Regions from separate parts of the Homo sapiens genome. Here region 2 is linked to region 1. The links are contacts of gene promoters, found by promoter capture Hi-C in blood cells and fetal thymus (Javierre and others, 2016). All regions are on one chromosome and are shown on one strand. Each heading gives the region's core, a stretch centred on a gene start or on the middle of the fragment in contact. The rest is flanking DNA. Distances are from core to core; before and after follow the strand shown.

What was found. The method cuts DNA at HindIII sites, captures the fragments that hold promoters and counts their contacts. A CHiCAGO score of 5 or more calls a contact.
Region 2: a fragment that was not itself captured here is called in contact with the fragment with the promoter of ERLN in region 1 in 1 of 17 cell types (endothelial precursors); the score reaches 5.1 in endothelial precursors.

What each region holds. Positions count from the first base shown.
Region 1 is chr17:75,642,610-75,648,649 of GRCh38, reverse strand. ERLN (endoregulin) reads right to left here and starts at 2,399. Exons shown (of 2, transcript NM_001162997.2): 1 at 1,864-2,399; 2 at 676-1,279. The coding sequence starts at 1,273. The coding sequence ends at 1,085. All of the region lies in intron 8 of RECQL5 (RecQ like helicase 5), which reads left to right. RefSeq lists enhancers at 2,081-2,160, 2,328-2,472, a cis regulatory region at 2,394-2,407 and a silencer at 5,267-5,561. The HindIII fragment of the contact is 6,633 bases long and covers 630-6,040 here.
Region 2 is chr17:75,296,257-75,302,296 of GRCh38, reverse strand. LOC124904059 (a long non-coding RNA gene) reads right to left here. Exons shown (of 2, transcript XR_007065908.1): 2 at 4,418-4,586. Among named protein-coding and RNA genes, the nearest start is that of SLC25A19, 9.8 kb to the right of the region's middle. RefSeq lists enhancers at 628-1,128, 4,209-4,288, 4,459-4,718. The HindIII fragment of the contact is 3,185 bases long and covers 1,909-5,093 here.

The DNA of each region.
Region 1 (6,040 bases), core at 1,150-3,649:
GTGTAATCCTAGCACTTTGGAGGCTGAGGCGGGTGGATCACAAGGTGAGGAGATCGAGACCATCCTGGCTAACACGGTGAAACCCCATCTCTACTAAAAATACAAAAAAATTAGCCGGTCACGGTGGTGGGAGCCTGTAGTCCCAGCTACTCGGGAGGCTGAGGCAGGAGAATGGCGTGACCCGGGAGGTGGAGTTTGCAGTGAGCCCAGATAGCGCCACCGCACTCTAGCCTGGGTGACAGAGCAAGACTCTGTCTCAAAAACAAAGAAACAACAACAACAAAGACATATAAGTCCTGTAAATGGTGTTTCGAGAGTATAAAACAAGTGGCCTTACCCTAATCCTTGAGGGTTAGGGAAGATTTACCTGAGGGAGTCAGGTTCAAACGGAGATACAAAGGATGAGGAAGGACTAACTAGGCCATAGAGTAAAGTGTGGTGTGAGGGAGAGCATCCCGGTCAATGAGAATAGCATGTGCAAAGGCCCTGTGGTGGGAGAGAACACAGCATATTCAAGAACTGAAAGACACGCTGAGAACCCAGGGGCAGGGCAGGATGGGGTGGGCAAGATGGCTGGAGACAGGCAGGCTAGAGCGTGCAGGCCCCGGTGCGGCTTTGTTCGGGAAGCTTGCTCTGGTGGCTCTATCTGGATTAAAAATGAGCTCTCACAAGTTAGCAGATTTGAAAAGGAATTTTTATTTCATTTGGTTGTGTCTTTCTCTGTCAAGGATTTGTGAAATTGCTGGCTGGGCCTGTGAGCCTGTTAGAGAACCTTGTTAGCCATAGCTCCTTCCACCTGAGGCAGTGGAGCCATCCTCTCCATGTGCTTTTAGGGTTCTGGTCGGGGAACCCTAAAAACAATAGGGTCAAGGAGCCAGAATTGGTCTCAGACCAGCCTCCCCATCTTACTAGTCTGACCAACCCTAAGCCAGATACAGTATTTTACTAGACTTTTTCCTGATGGGAAAGGAAGACACCAGGGCTTGGCCCCTGAGCCAGAGGGAACCGCGAAGGGGCCCACCACTGGAATGGGGGCAGGTCAGCTCGCCTCCCCTGCTGCCATCTCAGTCCCCAGCAAGTCAGGTCACTCCTCTTCACCCGCTTCACACTGAGTGTTTTCTGTGGAAGTGAGTAAACCAAACACGATGGCAAATAAGATGAGAAGCAGGACAGCGGTGATGAATAAGATAATCACTGCCAGGCCCCCCTGGTCCCAGGGGTTCTGCCAGAACGCATCATTCCAGATTGTCTCTTTGAATACCAGTTGGTCCATGAGAATCTGGAAAAGAGGGACAGAGGACCTGAGTGCAGGCAGCCCTCCCAGGCCCTGTCCCAGGTGCTATGCTCTGCCCGCCGACTCCAGCCTCTGTAGCAGCCTCTGTGAGCAGCCGGCCCGCCTGGCAGCCAGGGGACATGAAAGGGCTAGAGTCTTTGTGCTGGATGCCTGCAGCCAGCAGCAAATGGCATTTCCCCCGCTCTAGATACAGGAGCCAGGACTGGCGCAAGAAGTGGGGCCCTGGATTCTTCCTAGGGGATGCCCCTGGATTCTCCAGTCCTTCTTTCCTGAGTAGCAAGTGTGAGCAAGGACTCTCTCTCATCCCTGAGACCTACTTGGCTAGAATCTAAAAAGCATCATGATAGAGTCTCCCTGTTTTTCCTGCCCCAACTGCCAAACATTTGGGAGGCATTTGAGAGAGCGTATAGGAGCCGAGGAGGGGCCAACTCCAGCTGAGGCCTCGGTAGCCTCCTTGGAGCAGCTGAGAATAGAACTTAGGAGTCCTCTAGAAGCGGAGCTCCTTATCGCAGACTGCAAGCCCATAGCCAGGTGAGGGCAGCCCAGGTGGAGAAGGAGGGAGCCATTACCTGATTCTGCTGGTAGCTGTTCTGGGTCCTACAAGGGCAATTCAGGGTGGTCCTTCAGGCTCACACTTTGTGGAGGGCTGAGCTGAAGAGGCCGCCAGGTGACCAGAGCTGCACCCTGACTCAAAGAAGCAACTGTTGAGAGGAAAAGGCATGAGCGTGGCCAAGCGGCCCTGACCAGACCTTAGTTGCTGTCACCAAACAAACAAAGGTGGGCTAGGGCTGGTTGCCTGGCAACCACGGCTCCCTTTCTGCCTTTCACGTTCCCCCTTCAGCTCCTTTCTGCCCTTGTGTGATGTCATTTTGGGGGTGCTCAGGGCACGTGTTCATGAGTCCCTCCTGAGAGAAGTCAGACTTGGGGTGGACGGGGAAGAGACTGGACCGAGGGCCTTTGCCCCAGGCCATCAGGCCGCCTCACCTGTGGCTGGGCTGGGCTGTCCTCTGTCTGGGTGACGTGTGGACTGCGGACCTGCCCCGAGCTCAGGAAGCCCTGGGGCTGGGACTGGCGTAGGGCTCACTTCCTGTGTTGTGGGGTGAATGATTAACTGCAGCCCTGGCTGGCGCCTGGTGCCTCCTGGAACTGTTTCTGGGGGAAGTGTTGCTCCCCCCCTGAGGCTTCCCATTGGTGCCTTTGTCTGCTCCCTGGGCACGGCCTCAGCAACATTGTGTGGTTGGTTTCTGCCCACTGGCACAATAGGGAAGCTGGGAAGAGGGGATCAAGCCTGTGCCCTGGTGCTTGAAACCTAGTGGCCACCATATACTCCTTTAAAAGCTAGGATGTGAGGGCCCGCTATGGCCAGGAACCATGCCAGGCACTGTGTGTCCAGTTGTGAGATCAGAGAGGCGGGCCCTGCCCTCCAAGGGCTTCCCTTCTAGCCCTCGGGTGCTTATCCCAGCTGGTAAAGATCTAGGAGCTTTGAGAAATGCCCAGGCCCCACCTGGTACCACTTATATCAGTCTCTGGGGTTGCCAGGATGTCGTATTGTTTACACATCCCCAGGTGATTCTCCCCAGGTGTGGCCAGGGTTGGATGACAGATGGAGGCAGATTTAGAACAGTCGTTCTTAACTATCATGGGCGTCACTGACCCGGGTTACCTGATGTTTTCTGTTTCCTTGTGTGAAACTTACTGACTAAGGCCCTTGGCATGCTGAACGCTCACAGCAGTGGGCCAGTCTCTAGCTCACCCTTTGCGTGCAGCTCCGTCAGTTAAGTCAGATGCTTATCAAGAGTCAAGTGTTGGTTCCCAAACCTGTTCATGGCAGTTGTACTTGTAATTACATAATTGAATTTAACATCCCGGGAACCAATGAAGCAACAATAATAGCTGAAACCCCAATTTTACATGTGGGGAACGGGCACAGAGAGGTTAAATAACTTAGCCGAGGTCATCAGCTAGTAAGTAACTGAGTTGGAGTTTGAATCCAGCAGCACACAGTCTGAGCGCTGAAGCACCTGTGCTGCACCTCAGAGCGAGTGGAGAAAGAAATTCTTTCTAGAAATACCTATTGACTACTTTGGGATGACTTTGGAATCACTCAGATAATGTTCCTGTTGAAAAAGATGCAGACATGATAACTAAACATCAGGGACATTTTGTAAAAACCCAGAAGGTTTTCACACCCAGCTTCCTTTGCCTTTAAGTTCCAATGACTTTAAGTTTTTGTTCTGCTTTAAAGAAACCAAAACTAGAAAATAACAATCCAGGAGCTGTGGTTGGCAAGCCCACACTCAACCAAAACTAGAAGATAGCAATCCAGGAGCTCTGGTTGGCAAGCCCACACTCAGAGAAAAGGCCAGGAAGGCCGGCCAAGGAAAAGGTGTATGTTTCCATTTAATGTGAGATATGTAAAAAAGTAATAGATGTGTAGAGAACTTAGGTGTTCTTTAACAAAAGTTGCTTTGACCAGCTCTTTCAATTAACTGCCGGCCCCAATTGGATAATTTTTTTTTTTTTTTTTGAGGCAGAGTCTCACTCTGTAGCCCAGGCTGGAGTGCAGTGGTGTGATCTTGGCTCACTGCAACCTCTGTCTCCCGGGTTCAGGCGATTCTCCTGCCTCAGCCTCCTGAGTAGCTGGGATCACAGGCGTGTGCCACCATGCCCGGTTGGGAGGAAACTTTTATATACTCTCTGCCAAGTTTTTCTAATGAGATTCTTGTATCCGTGGCTTTATTGTCATTTTTTATTTTTATTTTATTTTTTTTGAGACAGGGTCTTGCTCTGTCACTCAGGCTGGAGTGCAGTGCCACTGTCATGCCCCAGGCAGTCCTCCTGCCTCAACCTCCACAGGAGTAGCTGGGACCACAGGTGTATGCTACCACACCTGGCTAATTTTTTTTTATATTTGTAGGGACAGGGTCTCCCCATGTTGCCCAGGCTGGTCTCAAACTCCCGAGCTCAAGGATCCTTGGCCTTCCAAAGTGCTGGGATTACATGCATGTGATATACTATGCTGGTCTGTTGTTGTTTTTTGTTTGTTTGCTTGAGACGGAATCTCACTCTGTCGCTCAGGCTGGAGTGCGGTGGCGTGATCTCAGCTCACTGCAACCTCTGCCTCCTGGGTTCAAGCAATTCTCCTGCTTCAGCCTCCCGAGTAGCTGGGACTACAGGCGTGCGCCACCACACCCGGCTAATTTTTTTGTATTTTTAGTAGAGACAGGTTTCACCATGTTGGTCAGGCTGGTCTTGAACTCCTGACTTCAAATGATCTGCCTGCCTCAGCCTCCCAAAGTGCTGGGATTACAGGCAGGAGTCACCACGCCCATCCCTATTGTAGCTTTTAATCAGGCATGATGTACAGACAGTGTGGCACGCAGGTCTTCAGAGTAGAGTGCAGCCCTTTTGAGGAGCCGAGAGCAGCCTGCCCTGTGGCGGAAGCAGAGGGCACAGCTTGGGGTGGGCATGAAGAGGCTGGCGACATGATTGTGGGGACCACTTAGGATGCTGCTGCAGTGACCACAGGTAAGCATTGATGGTGGCATGGTCCAGGATGGCACAGTGGCGGGAACAGAGAGGTGGTGACCAAGTCAGACGTCCTCTAAACCTGAAACCAGCCTGATGGCTGCCCCTTCCATGGCCCCCACCTGTCTTCAGGCCGCCCAGGTCTGCAGCATCTTTCTGTTTATTCTTTCCCACAGTGGGGCAACTGCTGCCACCTTTCCATGCCCATCTTCCCCAGGGAAGACCGGCACAAGAAGCTGCCTCTTAAAGGAGCGGGCCAGGCTGCTGTCGGAGAGCAGGTCTGGTTTGTTAATCTCAGTGGGTTTGAAGCCTGTGAAGGAGTTGGCCCGACAGCCGGGCCTGGTGTGTGCCAGTTGGCCAAGGAGCAGGGAGGAGTGAGTCCTGTGAGGGCAGGGACCGAATCCTGTGCGGACTCAGCAGTTGTTCACCGCCTGCCCTAGAGCGGCCATTCGGCCTGTCTGTGCCCAGGGCTGTCTGTGGTTCCCACCTCTCCGCAGCTGGGCTGGGGAAGCAGAATATTTTCTAACAAAGGGCCTCAGCCTCAGCCGCCCTGGAGCAGGGCTATTCTTATGCTGATGAAAACTGGCTTATGGAAAAGTCACCCAGGAATTGGGCTGCTTCCCTGTTGGCCATCTCCCAAACAGAAGGCTTCCAGGGACCCTCCAGCCATTGGTGCTGGGAATGAAAAATGCAGGGTTTCCTGTCCGTCCACTACCCTGTGTTTTTCTTCCGGGAGGGGTGCCTCATTGGGCACCACCCCAGCTCTTACCTGTTGGGTCCCACCCAGTCCTGCGAAGGTTATTTTGAGACAGAGTTTGGGGTGTGGGTGTTTTGGGTGTAGGGTTGGTCGATGGAGGATAATGGATTAGAGCCTTATCTGTACTGCAACCAGGAGGCCAAGTTCTGGGTCTCAGAGCCCTGGGTGTGGTAAGCAGAGGCTCTGGAGCCAGATAGGCTGGACTCAAGCAGGCCCTGCTCCTTTTCAGCTGGTTGAATGTAGACAAGTTACCTAACATCGCTGAGGCCCAGCTTCCTCATCTCTAAAATGGGGGTAATAGTGGTATCTTCAACATGGAGGTACTGTGATGAGTAATTGAGTTTATCTGCACCAAAATGCTGAAGACAATGCTGAGTATGTGTAACTCCTCAGTAAATTTTAGCCATCTTCATCATCATCTTCATCCTCCTCCTCATGATCATCGTCATCATTCTGAATCC
Region 2 (6,040 bases), core at 2,252-4,751, 350 kb after region 1:
TTTGTATTTTTAGTAGAGACGGGGTTTCACCGTATTGGCCAAGGTAGTCTTGAACTCCTGACCTTAAGTGATCCACCCACCTCGGCCTCCCAAAGTGCTGGGATTACAGGTGTGAGCCACCATGCCCAGCCAGAGAATACCCAATTTTTAGCTTGCATATGACTACCCAGAGTAAAGACCACCTGTCCCAGCTACTGACATTTAGGTGCAGCCATGTGACTCAGCTCTGGCCAATAGGATTCAAGTAAAATTTTCATATGACGGCCCCAGATAACCTTCCTGGAACCCCTTTCTCTTGCAATCATGTCTCCATCCTGTTGCTTCACTACCCATGTGATGTCTGGAGCTCTGGCTGCTGACACTGATGGCCACACCCTAGGGCAGCGGTCCCCAACCTTTTTGTCACCGGTTGCATGGAAAACAATTTCCCACGGTGGAGGGGGAACGGTTTTGGGATGAAACTGTTCCACCTCAGATCATCAGGTATTAGATTCTCATAAGGAGCGTGGAACCTAGATCCCTCGCGTACGCAGTTCACGTAGGGTTCGTGCTCCTGTGAGAATCTAGTGCCGCCGCTGATCTGACAGGAGGCGGTAATGCTTGCTCGCCCGCCATCATCTCCTGCTGTGGGGCCCAGCTCCTTACAGGCCACAGACCCGTACTGGGTTGGGTCCTTCTGCCCTAAGGGTTGTGGCATGGTGGGCTGGAAGGGGCCAGTGCTCTGCTCCTGGGAAGTTGATGGAGACAGTGGCTGAACCAGCCCTGGTGAGCTTACTGTGGACTTTGATGAATTCAAGCCACTATTGTGGGGCTCTGTCACTTTCAGGGCAGCTGAATCTAGTCCTGATACCCCATCATTCATGTCTGCCTACCAAGCAGCCAATCCCCACAGTCCCTGACATCTCCAGAATCCCCACCGCAAAGGGGAGCAAAGAAAAGACGTCTGTGGACATTTCCCATCTTTCTCTACTCAACCCTGCTACGTACGTAGTTCTCCACTCCCACGATTCCCTGTCTATAAATACTTTCATGGGGTGGAGGCAGATGAGGATGTGGAAGGGGGAAATCACTTCACTCTGAGCCATGCTGGGTGGTGTGTCATCTCCATCCCTGCACTCTAGTGTCTACTGAGCCGTCGAACACAGGCCCAGGTGCTGGAGACAGAGATGCATAAGAAAGTTACCAAACACCAGCCCTCAGGAAGCCGGAGATACCGTGGCAGATACTGAGCAGTAATCCATCCCAGAAGGCAGCGGGGCAAGGAGAGCAGAGGGGAGGCCGACTTGGATGGGGTCAGGAGAGACTTCAGAGAGACGGTGACTCCAGAACTGAGGCGTGGGGAAAGGAGGGAAAAAGGCTCATGCAGAAGCATGTGAGCATCCACCAAAGAAAAAACATCGAGTGTCAGCGGGGATGGCGAGAAACTGGAACCGCAGACCTCGCTGGTGGGAATGTATTAATAAGATGGTGCTGGCCAGGTGCAGTGGTTCACACCTGTAATCCCAGCACTTGGGGAGGCCGAGGCGGGTGGATCACTTGAGGTCAGGAGTTCGAGACTGGCCTGGCCAACAGGGTGAAACCCTGTCTCTACCAAAAATCTGAAAATTAGCTTCATGTGGTGGCGGGTGCCTGTAATCCCTCCCCACCCTCGGGAGGCAGGGGCAGGAGAATTGCTTGAAGCTGGGAGGCGGAGGTTGCAGCGAGCCAAGATGGTACCACTGCACTCCAGCCTGGGCAACAAGAGCAAAACTCTGTCTCAAAAAAAAAAAAAAAAAAAGCTCTGGAATTGGATAGCGGTGATGATTGCACAATATACTAAACAAACCCCACGAAGCTGTATATTTTTAAACATACAGTTTTTTGATGTTTTTTAATGTTATGTGAATTATATCTTAATACAAATAAGCTTTAAAAATCATTATGAGCCAGGTGCAGTGGCTCATGCCTGTAATCCAAGCAGTTTGGAAGGCTGAGACGGGAGGATTGCTTGATCCCAGGAGTTGGAGACCAACCTGGACAACATAGGAAAACCTCATCTCTACAAATAATAAAATAAAAATTAGCCAGGCATGGTGGTACACACCTGTGGTCCCAGTTATTCAGGAAGCTGAGGTGGGAGAATTGCATGAGTCTGGGCCGTCAAGGCTGCAATAAATCGTGATCATGCCACTGCACTGCCACTGGGCAACAGAGGAGGATCTCATCTCAAAAAAGAAAAAAAAGATTGTGATACAACCAACAAAAGTTATACTTTATGAAAAACTTAAAAAACATGGAAAACATCATCATAGTACAATGTTAAATGAAAGCGCATAATCTTACATGTACAGTAGGATTATAATTGTGTTAAAAACAAAAACACATCACTTAAATACAGGAAAAGCCCAGTGGAAAGAAATGTATCAATACTGGGACAGGAGAAAATCTGTTTCTGTCTTGGGAGTAATGACATGACCACCCTGCCTGATTTGCTATGGATTTGAGGAGGCTTTAGGCCCATTTTCTCATAGCCTGCTTCTTAGATTTGGAGCTCCCAAAAGTAGTCAACTTTTTTTTTTTTTTTTTTTTTCAGATGGAGTCTCACTCTGTCATCCAGGCTGGAGTGCAGCGGTGCGATCTCAGCTCACTGCAAGCTCCACCTCCCGGGTTCACACCATTCTCCTGCCTCAGCCTCCCAAGTAGCTGGGACTACAGGTGCCCTCCACCACGCCCAGCTAATTTTTTGTATTTTTAGTAGAGACGGGGTTTCACCATGTTAGCCAGGATGGTCTTGATCTCCTGACCTCATGATCCTCCTGCCTCGGCCTCCCAAAGTGCCGGGATTACAGGCGTGAGCCACCTCGCCCGGCCCATTTTTTGTTTTTGAGACGGGGTCCTGCACTCCCAGGCTGGAGTGCAGTGGCATGATTTTGGCTCACTGTAGCCTTGACCTCCCAGGCTCAAGAGAACCTTCCACCTCAGCCTCCCAAGGAGCTAGGACTACAGGCGCGTGCCACACATCCAGCGGTTTTTTTTTTTTTTTTTTTTTGGTAGAAACAAAGTCTCACTATTGTTGCCCAGGCTGGTCTTGAACTCCTGGGCTCAAGTAATCCTCCTGCCTCAGCCTTCCAAAGTGCTGGGAGAGGTAGTCATCCTTGAGTCAGGAACCGTAAATTGTCACGGAAGAAGACGTGGTCTGTGGCTAGGCGCGGTGGTTCACGCCTGGAATCCCAGCACTTTGGGAGGCCGAGGAAGGCAGATCACCTGAGGTTAGGAGTTCGAGACCAGCCTTGCCAACATGGTGAAACTCTGTCTCTACTAATAATAAAAAATTAGCTGGGTGTGGTGGCGCGTGCCTGTAATCCCAGCTACTCAGGAGGCTGAGGCAGGAGAACTGCTGAAACTTTGGAGACAGAGGTTGCAGTGAGCCAAAACCGCTGCCACTACATTCCAGCCTGGGCTACAGAGCGAGACTCTGTCTCAAAAAATAAAAAATAAAAGAAGACATGGTTTGCGGTGGATGTGGGACATGTCAACCCTTCCACACACAGACACCTCTACCTTCACGACAGGGCTGCACTCTGTTCTCTGTGTGCATTTGATGGCAGGCAGGGTGAAGATGGGCTTCCCACAGACACAGCAAAAATTCCTTTTATTTTATTTTTTGAGACAGATTTTCGCTCTTGTTGCCCAGGCTCGAGTGCAGTGGCGTGATCTTGGCTCACTGCAACCTCTGCCTCCCAGGTTCAAGCGATTCTCCTGCCTCAGCCTCCCGAGTAGCTGGGATTATAGGCACCTTCCACCACGCCTGGCTAATTTTTGTTGTATATTTAGTAGAGAAGGGGTTTCACCATGTTGGCCAGGCTGGTCTTGAACTCCTGACCTCAGTTGATCCACCCACCTCGGCCTCCCAAAGTGCTGGGATTACAGGAGTGAGCCACCGCGCCCAGCCAGAAAATTCTTTCTCACAGAAGCTCAGAAACAGGTGATGAGTGAGGAGGCGTGGTCACCCACAACAGTTGATGATCTGGTCAAAGAGAACCAAATGCCGAAAACCACAAAGCTGGAAGCCTTGAGACCCTCCAGCAAACTTGGGAACCCTTCTTCTCTGGCCTGGTATTGACATTTCCTGTAGCCTCTTTTTGGAATTTCCTGTAGCGAAACAACGGAGTTTCGCTCCTGTTGCCTAGGCTGGAGTGCAATGGCGCGATCTCAGCTCACAGCAACCTCCGCCTCCCGGATTCAAGCCATTCTCCTGCCTCAGCCTCCAGAGTAGCTGGGATTACAGGCAGGTGCCACCACGCCCAGATAATTTTTATAGTTTTAGTAGAGACGGGGTTTCACCATGTTGGCAAGGCTGGTTTCAAACTCCTAACCTCAAGTGATCTGCCTGCCTCGGCCTCCCAAAGTGCTGGGATTACAGGCATGAGCCACCTCACCCAGCTAGTTTTTTATTATTAGTAGAGACAGGGTTTCACCACGTTGGCCAGGCTGGTCTCAAACTCCTGACGTCAGATGATCCGCCCGCCTCGACCTCCTGAAGTGCCGGCATTACAGACGTGAGCCACCGCACCCGGCGCCCTGTAGCCTCTTGATGTTTGACTCCCCTGAGAAGAGCAACAGAAGAAAGTCAAAATGGGTAAGAAATCAGCTATTGAAAGTTACTGGACAGTGAATCCTCTCTTTCTTTCTTTCTTTTTTTTTTTTATTTTAGTTTACTGGTGTTTGAGTCATTTGCTGAGTAAATCTGAAAGAACAAAGAAAAAAAGGAACTGTTGCCAAGGTGCCCCTATCTTTGGGGCTTGCAGCCTATCAGAACTTCCTCCAGAATCCTCCATCAGTGGTTGGCTTCTCATTATTTCCTCAGCCCTTTAGCTCTATTAAGTTTTAAAAAATAAAATGAAGGCCGGCCATAGTGGCTCATGCCTGTAATCTCAGCACTTTGGAAGGCCAAGGTGGGTGGATTGCTTGAGGTCAGGAGTTCAAGACCAGCCTGGGCACACCCCGTCTCATTTAAAAATAAAATAAAATAAAATAAAATGATGGAGATTTATATCCATGCAAAAACCTGCACATGAAGGCTTATGGCAACTTTATTCATAAATGCTAAAGCTTGGAAGCAACTAAGATGTCCTGTTTTTTTGGGTTTTTTGAGACGGAGTCTCGCACTGTCACCTGTGCTGGAGTACAATGGCATGATCTCAGCTCACTGCAACCTCCGCCTCCCAGGTTCAATCAATTCTCCTGCCTTAGCCTCCTAAGTAGCTGGGATTACAGGCGCCTACCACCACGTCCAGCTAATTTTTTGTATTTTTAGTAGAGACGGGGGTTTCACTATGTTGGCCAGGCTGGTCTCGAACTCCTAACCTCGTGATCTGCCCACCTCGGCCTCCCAAAGTGCTGGGATTACAGGCATGAGCCACTGTGCCCAGCTAAGACATCCTTTAATAGGTGAATGGATAAGCAAACTGTGTGCTGGAACCGCACAATGAAATGTTATTCCACACCAAAAAGAAACACACTATCAGGCCAGGAGAAATTGTGGAAAAACCTTAGCTGCATATTGCTGAGTGAAAGAAAGCCTGATCCAAGAGGGCAAGAATTCTGATTGATTCACTGCTGAATCTCCAACATCTAAAACAGTGTCTGGCCAAAACAGGCCCTCAATATTTGATGAGTTGTTGTTTTTTTTAAGTCCAGGCATATGGTGGCTCAAACCCTTGATCCCAGCACTTTGGGAGGCTGAAGCGAGGTGATTGCTTAAGGCCAGGAGCTCGAGACCAGCCTGGACAACATAGTGAGACTCCATCTCCATTAAAAAAAAAAAAAAAAAAAAAAAAGGCCGGGCACAGTGGCTCACGCCTGTAATCCCAGCACTTTGGGAGGCTGAGGCAGGTGGATCACGAGGTCAAGAGATCGAGACCATCATGGCTAACACGGTGAAACCCCGTCTCTACTAAAAATACAAAAAATTAGCTGGGCGTGGTGGCAGGTGCCCGTAGTCGCAGCTACTCGGGAGGCTGAGGCAGAATGGCTTGAGCCCGGGAGGCAGAGCTTGCAG